Regions from separate parts of the Homo sapiens genome. Here all the other regions are linked to region 3. Evidence: promoter capture Hi-C in 16 types of primary human blood cells and fetal thymus (Javierre and others, 2016). All regions are on one chromosome and are shown on one strand. Each heading gives the region's core, a stretch centred on a gene start or on the middle of the fragment in contact. The rest is flanking DNA. Distances are from core to core; before and after follow the strand shown.

Evidence for each region. Contacts are between HindIII fragments. The CHiCAGO score rates a contact against its expected background, and 5 or more counts as called.
Region 1: a fragment that was not itself captured here is called in contact with the fragment with the promoter of SCUBE1-AS1 in region 3 in 1 of 17 cell types (megakaryocytes); the score reaches 5.1 in megakaryocytes.
Region 2: a fragment that was not itself captured here is called in contact with the fragment with the promoter of SCUBE1-AS1 in region 3 in 1 of 17 cell types (endothelial precursors); the score reaches 5.8 in endothelial precursors.

The regions. Positions count from the first base shown.
Region 1 is chr22:43,793,375-43,796,603 of GRCh38, forward strand. All of the region lies in intron 2 of EFCAB6 (EF-hand calcium binding domain 6), which reads right to left. Among named protein-coding and RNA genes, the nearest start is that of EFCAB6, 17 kb to the right of the region's middle. The HindIII fragment of the contact is 2,330 bases long and covers 727-3,056 here.
Region 2 is chr22:43,864,520-43,867,873 of GRCh38, forward strand. No RefSeq gene overlaps it. Among named protein-coding and RNA genes, the nearest start is that of SULT4A1, 3.7 kb to the left of the region's middle. RefSeq lists a silencer at 3,330-3,354. The HindIII fragment of the contact is 3,844 bases long and covers 1-3,354 here.
Region 3 is chr22:43,274,400-43,277,769 of GRCh38, forward strand. It overlaps SCUBE1-AS1 (SCUBE1 antisense RNA 1), which reads left to right and starts at 1,543. Exons shown (of 2, transcript NR_134582.1): 1 at 1,543-1,612. All of the region lies in intron 4 of SCUBE1 (signal peptide, CUB domain and EGF like domain containing 1), which reads right to left. RefSeq lists an enhancer at 3,321-3,370. The HindIII fragment of the contact is 3,024 bases long and covers 1-1,872 here.

The sequences.
Region 1 (3,229 bases), core at 642-3,141, 520 kb after region 3:
TGGATCGTTCTGAAAATGGAGCCTATTGGGTGTTCTACCTAAACATTCTTGGTATAAGCATTTTCTAAGCAACCATTCTCTCAACCATCCATTATTCAGCAAACACTGTAGGCCACTGCAGGCATTGGCTAGGGTCTAGGAAGAGAAAGAAATATAACCCACCCTGACCCTCTAGTCACTCACCATTTAACTCAGAATGTTAAAGAAAATGGCAATATGTTGCAAAAGGAAAGAACAAGGCATCCCCGCAGCATCTCCAACTAACACTACTGTAGCCTGGAGAAATTCAGCATTGCTCTGTGGGGTACCTGTCTGACTAGAGACTAACACTACTCTGTGGGGTACCCATCTGGCTAGAGTGGGTGAGAGTGTGAACTCTATCACTCTATCTCCACGGTCAGATTAAAGACTTCTCCCAACAGACACCATCCATCGGTTCATCTGAAGGGGAGAAAGAGCTATTCCATTTGTAGATTCCTCAAGCAGAAATAACATGATTTGTTATTGTTATTAATACCATTGTTTTTAAATGCATTTATTTTCCATTTTTAAAAATGGATTTTCAAAGGGCCGTGAAAGCAAGCATATAGCTTTAAAACGGTGGTTCTCAAAAGTGTGGTGCCTGAACCAGCACTTTGAGACCTTTTTTCAGAAATGTACATTTCCAGGCTCCACCCAGACAAACTGACTCTCTGGGGGATGGGGCCCAGCCATCTGTATTTAATAAGCTTGAGACCAGTGCTTTAGAAGAACCTGAAGTTGATTGATAAGTATGAGTTTATAGGTTTTGCCTTTAAAGAGGTTCATGTGTAAAGTTTCCCACTTTATATCAAAATGAAGTTAAAAGCCAGCCGCAAACATTACGTTTAGGTCCTTCAACTAGCAATAACCGAGCATCTATTTTGCTGGGCACTGGGTGTTATCTCATTTAATCATCAACCATGTGACAACCTTGTGAGTTAGACACTATTATCCATATTTTTAGAGGTGGAAAAATTAAATGCCAGAGAGAAAAGGTCAAATTTACTCAGTAACAGTGAAGCCAAGACCCAAACTCCGGTGAATTTAATCCTTGGCTTTTTGTCCAATTGTGCCAGCATGTGTATGTGTGTATGCATTTGCCTACATGCATGTGAGTGATTTGTGTGTATTCGTATGTAAACAGATAAGAGTAATGAAGTTTTCATATATTTGATATGGCAGTAAGAAAATCTGTGTATCAATCCACAAGAATAGATAACTTGAGTTTGCAAAACGGTTTAACAATTCTGCAACCTACTCAAGAGAACATGTAGAAAATTAAAAGCAAGCCATCTACATACAGTTCTAATCAAATATGAGGATTCCAGCATTCGTGCCACCAACATTTGAAGACCAGTCCCTCCTCCCCCATTCCAGTCTCATACTGCCTTAATATCTTAGACAGACTCTACTGGCAACCCCTAGTCTATTGTTCTAAACATAGGAATTATAAGAATGCAAGTTGATTTACAAATATATTCCAAATGATAGGGTATCACAAAAAACAATTTAGCCAGTCATCTGAATTCAATTTAGCAGAAAAATCTGAGCTTATAAACTGACCTGCCTCCACAGCTAGGCAACACTATGGCCACGCATTTGGGACACAGTCTCCCTCCACCAAGGAGCTCCCCAGGCCCTGTACAGCCCCTTGCCCTGCCCGAACCTCATCGTCACAGACAGTCTACCCTCACACACTGTAAGACCCACCCCCACAAACCTAGAAATCAAATGAAAAACAACAAACTGCGGAAAGTGAATATATTTTAATGGAGTAGGATATCACTGCTATAACTGGTAACTAGAAAATATGTAGAAATATCAGAACACGTTTAGGACAATGTCAAGAGAACAAGTACAGTGGGGCATACACTATGAATACAACGATATAAAAATATATTGTCACAAATAGACAGGGACTAGAAGATATGACAAAAATTGCTACCTGGGGACGATGGAGACATTGATCTTTTTATGTTAAATGTTCTTTAATAACCGTGTCATGGCATGTTCTAGACATCATGCCTACCAGTGCCCACTAGGCAGGAGAGGAGCTGCCTCCTGCCCACATCTCCCCTCTCACGGCCCCATGGGTCCCTCGGCCCTGCTCCACCCCAGCCGATTCCTCTGCCTTGAGACCTCCTGGAACATCACTTTCTGGAGAGGCTTCTCTGACCACCCTGCATCTTCCTTGCAGAGTCTCTCACACAGCCTGCACTTCTCCGGCACTGTACATACCCCAACTTCGCATTACACTTTTAGTTGGGAAATTATGAACTCCATTATAAGCTCCATGAAATAAAAGGGTGTGTTTACACCACTCTACCCCCAGCCCCGAAGTACTCAGCACGTAACTGCTGCTCCAAATTACTGACAAATAAATGGTTTTCACAGCCCTGCCATTCAGACAGCACTCGCCTCCCAACACACACACACACACACACACTACACACTCACCACATACTCTCACCATACACAGTCACCACACACAATACACACTCACCACACATACACCACACACACACACACCCCTTCATCACACACGTACCACACACAACTCACCCCCCACAGAAACACACACACCACACACAACTCACCCCCCACAGAAACACACACACCACAGACCACTTACCCCCCACAGACACACACACCACACACACAGAGTAGCACACATGCACACCACATGTCCTTCTACTCCTGTATTTTATTGATGAGTCTCTCTTTTTCCCACCATTCAGGGTAGAAGTTTCCACGCCATCCACAATTCCTCACTCATCCCTCTACTGAGAACTGGTGGCCAGTGTCAGCCAGGTTTCCTTAATGAACACCCTCGACCCCATGACTGTTCAATGTCTGTCTTCCCTGTCAGACTATTAATGCCGTGGGAGCCAGGGTCGGGTTTGATCATGTGCTCAGCACGTCAACCTCCAAAAAATGATGAATGTTAAGTTGAACTAAATTAAGTAATTGTGTTTTGTATTAGTTTACACTAGCATGAATGTCTTGCTGCCCCAAATACAGAGCCTAAAGAAAAAAGCTTATACTGTTTTGTTTGTAATACTCCTTTATCATGGATATAAAAGTCTAATTTCAGGAGCTATCTCAGAAATTCACTATTACCTCATGAATATCATCAGACCCACCACACCTGATGTGATGACAGACACAGATACGGCAACCGAGAAAAAACAAGTCGTGTCAGAAACAC
Region 2 (3,354 bases), core at 247-2,746, 590 kb after region 3:
CTAAAATGTCTTGTTGAGTCTTGAACTCCTGCAAGTTCAAAAATGTTGGGAATAGGTCAGAAGGACACAGGGTATAACATGAAAGTATTATCATAGGTCAAATCGGAAACAATTTGAGCATGTTAGACAAAAATGGGAAAAAACCCACGTACCCAACAGTAGAATAGATAAATTGCGATATATTCATACAATGGAATACAGTAATTTTTTTAAAAAAGGAATGTAACTGAGAAGAATGTCACAGTCAAAATGATGAACAAACTAAGTCAAGCACAAAAAATGGTATGTCATATGATTCTATTTATATACAGTCAAAACCAAGCAAAACTGATCTATAGTGATAGAGGTGAGAATAGTCTTAACCTGGGGCATTGGAAAGAGGGTTGACTGGGAGCAGACTCAAGGTTACCTACCCTCCATAGTGTTGGAAACATCATAGCTTGCTCTTAGTGGCGGTTACATGAAGATATAGACATAGATAAAAGTACAGACATGGACATAGATGCAGGCCTTGCTTCACGGATACGCAACCAGGGGAGTCACACAGGGTTCTGTGCTCAGAAGGGCCCCACACTTTGGAATTTAATGGTCTGTGGTCACTATCTTGAAATTGTTGCATTTATCTTTGGGTTTGTTTTGTAAGTGAGGTCTGGTCAAAATTAGCTGGGAGTGGTGACACGCACCATAATCCCAGCTACTCAGGAGGCTGAGGCAGGAGGATTGCTTGAACCTGGGAGATGGAAGTTTCAGTGGGCTGAGATTGCACCACTGCACTCCAGCCTGGGTGACAGAAAAAGACTCCGTCTGAAAAAAAAAAGCCATAATGGACATTAATGAGATAATTTGCAATATTTGAATATAGACTCTAGATTAGATGATATTCTATTTTAAATTTCCTAAATTTGAAAACTGCACTGTGGTTATGTAAAAATGTCCATTTGCCTCAGAGGTACATGTGGAAGTATTTGGGGGTGAAGAATCATGATGTCTGCCACTTACTTTCAAATGGTTTTACAAAAATAAAACCACAATTATAACCCTAATGCAAGCACATGTATGTATACACATTGAGAGCGAGAAAGAAAATGTGGGAAAAGCCACAATTGGTGAATGTAGGTGATGATATATGTTCATTATGTAGTCATTTTCTATTTTGCTATAATGAATTACCACAAACTCAGCTCTGTAAGTCAGAAGTCTGATGCTGGTACCACTAGACCAAAAGGAAGGTGTCAGCAGGGCTAGCATTCCTTTCTGGAGGATCCAGGGGAGAACCTATTTCCTTGCTTTCTTTAGCTTCTAGAAGCCACCCACATTCTCTAGCTCATGGTCTCTTTCCATCTTCAAAATGGCAGACACAGTCTTTCTCACATCGTATCACTCTTTTTGTTTACTTGTTTATTTGAGACAAAGTTTCACTCTTGTTGCCCAGGCTGGAGTACAGTGGCACGATCTCGGATCACTGCAACCTCCGCCTCCCAGGTTCAAGCAATTCTCCTGCCTCAGCCTCCTGAGTAGCTGGGATTATAGGCATGCACTACCACGCCCGACTAATTTTGTATTTTTATTAGAGACAGGGTTTCTCCATGTTGGTGCAGCTGGTCTTGAACTCCCGACCTCAGTTGATCCACCTGCCTCGAACTCCCGAAGTGCTGGGATTACAGGCATGACCCACTGCGCTTGGCCATATCGCTCTTACATTGACTCTTCTTCTGTCTCCGTCCTCCACTTTTAAGGACCCTTGTGATTACATTGTACCCACCCAATAATCCAAGATAATCTCCCTATTTTAAGATCAGCTGATCAGCAACCTTAATTTCATCTACAACCTTAGTTTGACTTTGACATATAATATAACATATTCACAGGCTCCCAGGACTGGAATGTGGACATCTTTGGAGGACTGTTATTCTGCCTACCGCAATTGCAGTAAACTTTTCTATACATTTAACTTTTTTTCAGAATAGAAACCTAAAGAAAAACCTTTATTAACAGAAAATCCCTAGGAATTTGCAAAAAGGCTGCTAGAACTAATAAGTGAGTTTAGCAAGGTCATAGGATACAAGGCCAACAAATAAAAACAATCCTATTTATACATACTAGCAACCAACAATTGGGAATTGCAGTTTCAAAAATACCATTTTTAATAGCATTGAAAACTATTAAATACTTATAATATATGTAGGAAAATATGCACAAGATTTGTGTAGCAAAACCTACAAAACATGAGTGAGAGAAATGTTTTAAAACTTAAAGAAATGGAGAATTATACCCTGTTAATGGATTCAGCATTGTTAAGGTGCCCATTCTGCCCATTCTCACTTTTTTTTGTTTGTTTGTTTGAGACAGAGTCTCACTCTGTCGCCCAGGCTGGAGTGCAGTGGCGCGATCTTGGCTCACTGCAACCTCTGCCTCCTGGGTTCAAGCAATTCTCCTGCCTCAGCCTGCTGACTAGCTGGGATTACAGGCATGCATCACCATGCCCGGCTCATTTTTTTGTATTGTTTTTAGTAGAGACAGGGTTTCACCATGCTGGCCAGGCTAGTCTCAAACTCCTGACCTCGTGATCTGCCTGCCTCAGCCTCCCAAAGTGCTGGGATTACAAGCGTGAGCCACCGTGCCTGGCCTCCTCACATTTATCTATAGAGTCAGTGCAATTCCAGGTAAAATCCCACTGGACTCTGCTGTTGAAATTGACAAGCTGACTCTAAAATTTATATAGAAAAATAGGCCAGGCGCGGTGGCTCACGCCTGTAATCCCAGCACTTTGGGAGGCCAAGGCGGGCGGATCATGAGATCAGGAGATCGAGACCATCCTGGCTAAGACGGTGAAACCCCGTCTCTACTAAAAATACAAAAAATTAGCCGGGCACGGTGGCGGGTGCCTGTAGTCCCAGCTACTGGGGAGGCTGAGACAAGAGAATGGCGTGAACCCGGGAGGTGGAGATTGCAGTGAGCCGAGATTGTGCCACTGCACTCCAGCCTGGGCGACAGAGCGAGACTCCATCTCAAAATAAATAAATAAATAAATAAATAAATAAGAAGAAAAAGAACCTAGAATGGGCAAAATAATTTTTAAAAAGAATAGCAAAGTTTGAGGGCTCACACTACCTGATTTAAAGACTTATTATAAAGCTACTTACCTTAACACTGTAAATCAAAACAATATGTAACTGACATAAGCATAAACATGTAAATAAATGGAACAGAATAGAAAGCTCAAAAATATACCCAAACATCTATGACCAATTGTTTTTTGACAAGATATCCTTAAAGAGCAGAAAGCAGTAACTTCTCATGAGCCGAAAATGTCCATCAAGGCCTGAGCCTTTGAATAGAGAAAACCTCACCGCT
Region 3 (3,370 bases), core at 293-2,792:
GGCAACCCTGCCCTGCCCTCCACAGGGACCCTAAAGGAAGCCATGGCGGACGGACAGGCTGTCTAGTGCCACCCTTAGCTCCTACTGCCAGAGAGCTCAGGCAGGTGCCCAGGCCATGGCCTGCCACGAACAGGGAAAAGGTCTGTTTTTCCTTTCCAGCAGGTGACGAGATGGAGGGCGCCCAGGCATGGGGGCCAAGGTGGTAGCATCCCAAAAGTGTTCCCACAGCAGCCCTGGGAACCCGGAAGGAGACAGTGGTAAGAGCACTGTGGACACACGAACAGGAGGATCTGTAAGGCTGTGAGCAGCGTCCCCGAGCCCCAGCCAGTGACTCTCCACCACTGTCCACCCACATGCCGCAGAAAGGAGCAGGGGCTGCAGAGCCACAGCCTGGGGCTGGAGTCCCGGCTGCGTCACAAGCAGTGGCGCTCACTTCCTCTCCCTCAGCTGTGCATGAGGGGCGGCAGCGGGTACTTCTCATGGCCCTTCGAGGACAAAAGGGGCTCATGGGCTCGGGGCACAGTAGGTACGTTTGGATCATCGGCAGGTACAGCCACTTTGGGGACATAAGCCAATTCCCGCCACCGACTCAAACTTAGTCTGGTGACTTGTCGCTGCACTCAACAGACAAACGTGTGGGCGATCTGTGATGTGCCCTGGGGGCACAGGAGTCAGGCGCTCTGTGATGTGGAGGCGAGGCTGGGCAGCGGGAGGGAAAGGTGTTCTGGAGCAGGAACAAGCCCATGCAGAGGCCTGGGGAGTGAGGCTGGGGGTCTCTGCGCTTCTGACAGACAAACTGGGGCTGGAGAGGCCTCGTGGAGAGAAGCCGGCAGACCTGCAAGCTGACCAGCTGTGGAAGGGAGCAAGGTGGGACAGCAGTGCAGGACCCAGCAAACCACGACGCGCTGGGCGTCCCTCTCCTGGCGGTGGGCTGGGCACACTGCTCTGCACGAGGGGTGTGAAGGCACTTTGTGAACGGATGATGCACACACTTCGGGCATGAGTCCCTCATGAGATGGTCTCATCTCCTCTACACTCCCATGCGGCATGTTTTCCTCTGCACCCTGCCCTGTGTGAGACGTGAGAAACACAAGGATGACTTAAACACATCCCTGCCCTTCTTGGGAGCTCATGGACTGGTCCTGCAGTAGAGGGCTGAACCATTTCAAACACATGAGTGCAAGTAAAGAGGAAGACGTGCACGCCTGCCTAAGAGTCAGAGACAGCTTCAGAGAGGAGGTGAAAGTGCGCTGGGTTTTGATGGATGACTAAGAGTTCTCCAGGAAGGGAGGGGAATGGGAAATGGCAGTAAAGGCAGAGGATGACACATACCGAGGTTGTAATCAGTAAAGGGCACGTGTGCCGTAACAGGGAGAACAACAGGCAGATGGGGAGGAACCAGGAGAGAGGAACTGGACTGTGGGAGGCCTTGGGAGGCAGGAAGGCAGCAGTGCCTGACAATGGAGGAACTCGGAGGGGGGCGGAGAAAGCGCCCCGGCTGCAGGATGCAGGAGGGAAGGGGGATGAGGCGGAGGTAGGGACACCAATTAGCAACCACAACCTTTGAAGAAGGCAGGGCAACAGGGGTGAGGAAGCTGGCTGGGTTTGGGAGGTGAGTAGAGCTCGGACGTGGGATCCGGTCACACTAGGATGTGGGAGCCACACAGGGGAAGGGTGAAGGCAGCACCCCAGCGCTGGTGCCCCACTGATGGGGGACGCGCTAGGAAGCACAGGTCTGGGAGGATGGGAAGATGCTGCGTTTGGTTTTGGGCAGGTGGGAATTCTGTAGCTGGGGTCCCCGTCTAGGGGACAGTTGGTACTGGGGTCAGAGCTGGAGAAGTGGCCACTGCTGGTCAGCAAGGAGACTCAAGAAGCTTAGGGGAGAGCTAGGAGAGGGCTGAGGCAGAGGAGGAGCCAGGATCGGGGGCTGAGGAGGAAGGGAAGAAGTCCCATGGGACGTACATGCTGAAAGAGTCTGGTGACATAATCAAGCAGCCACCAGGCCGGGAGACAAAAACCCACCTGGCTGGCCTCAGGCGGGTGACGAGGACCTGGGGAATGCTGCGGCCAGGGGTGGCCAGGCAGACGTCCCACCAGGAGATTGGCCTTGTGGCCACAGTCACAACCCAATTTCCCTAATGAGGCTAGGGAGGGCTCACACCACTCCCTAATGACCCAGGATGACCTCGGCTGCTTCCCCACTCTGCCAACCAGGCATCTGCCCGGTGGTTTCCGAACCCACACTCCAGATCTGCATGACTTTCCATGCGTAGGGCCTGTGCCCACAAACCCCAGGTGGGAAGCCAGGCTGTGGGCTACGGTGTAGGGGGTGGGCACTGGTCTGGAGCCTAGGGGCCTGGGACAAGTTCCAGCTCTGCCCCCAACATGCTAAGTGACCTCTGACAGGACACATGGTGTTTCCAGGGCCTCTGCTACTTCACTCTAGAACAGGCGTGCAGGCCAGCTTCCCTCCAGGGCAGCATGCTTTCGGTTCTCACGCACGTCAACTCCATGACCTCGCCTCAGCTTTTCCTGACTGCCTGCTCCCTACAGACCCCAGGCTGGACACTGGGGGGCCAGCGGGTCCTTGTGTCCAAGGGCATATCCTCACTTGGGGGAGAAAGGCCCGGGAGCAGAGACATGAGAGACAGGGCAGGGAGGCTGAGGGTGGAGGCCGAATGAGACAGAGGCAGGGATGCGTAGGTTCCACCTGGGGGATCAGGAGGTGTGCGGGGAAAAGGTGTAGAGGGTTCTCAGTGAGCGATGGTCAGTCAGGATGAGCGGGAGTTCCAGACAGAGGGAGCTGTGTGGGCAGAGGCCGGGATGAGAAGTTCACTATGGCTGGTTCATGACATGCCAAGCAAGGACAGGCTGCAGAGAACCACATTCCTCTCAGGAGCCATGGGAAGGTCTTGAGTGGGGAATGACAGAGCCAGAGGGTTGGGCAGAGCAGTGGTTCTGGCTGCTACCAGAAGGCTTGCGGGGCAGGGAGGCCTGTGAGGCAGCTGCCGCACTAACTCAGGCAAAAGACGGCAGCGCAGCCCTAGGCAGAGGGCAGCATGGCGAGACAGGGGCTCCTTGTGTCACAGGGCATCTGGGCTGCACAGCACCCCTGCCCCTGGCCCCCCATCCATTGGTTCATCAAGTGTCTTTGATCTTAGGAGGCGGTTGGGCCTGGGTGCAAATCTTGGCTTTGCTACTTCTTCACTACGGACAAGTCTCTTTGCTTTTCAGCCTCCATTTGCTCACCTGCAAAATGGGGTAGCTACATGACACAGACTGTTCTCAGGATCTGATGACTCGTGTCAGAGTCTATGCACTATGCTCAGCTATGATGCGTATGACAGCTTTGCACAGTTCTAGTGATCTG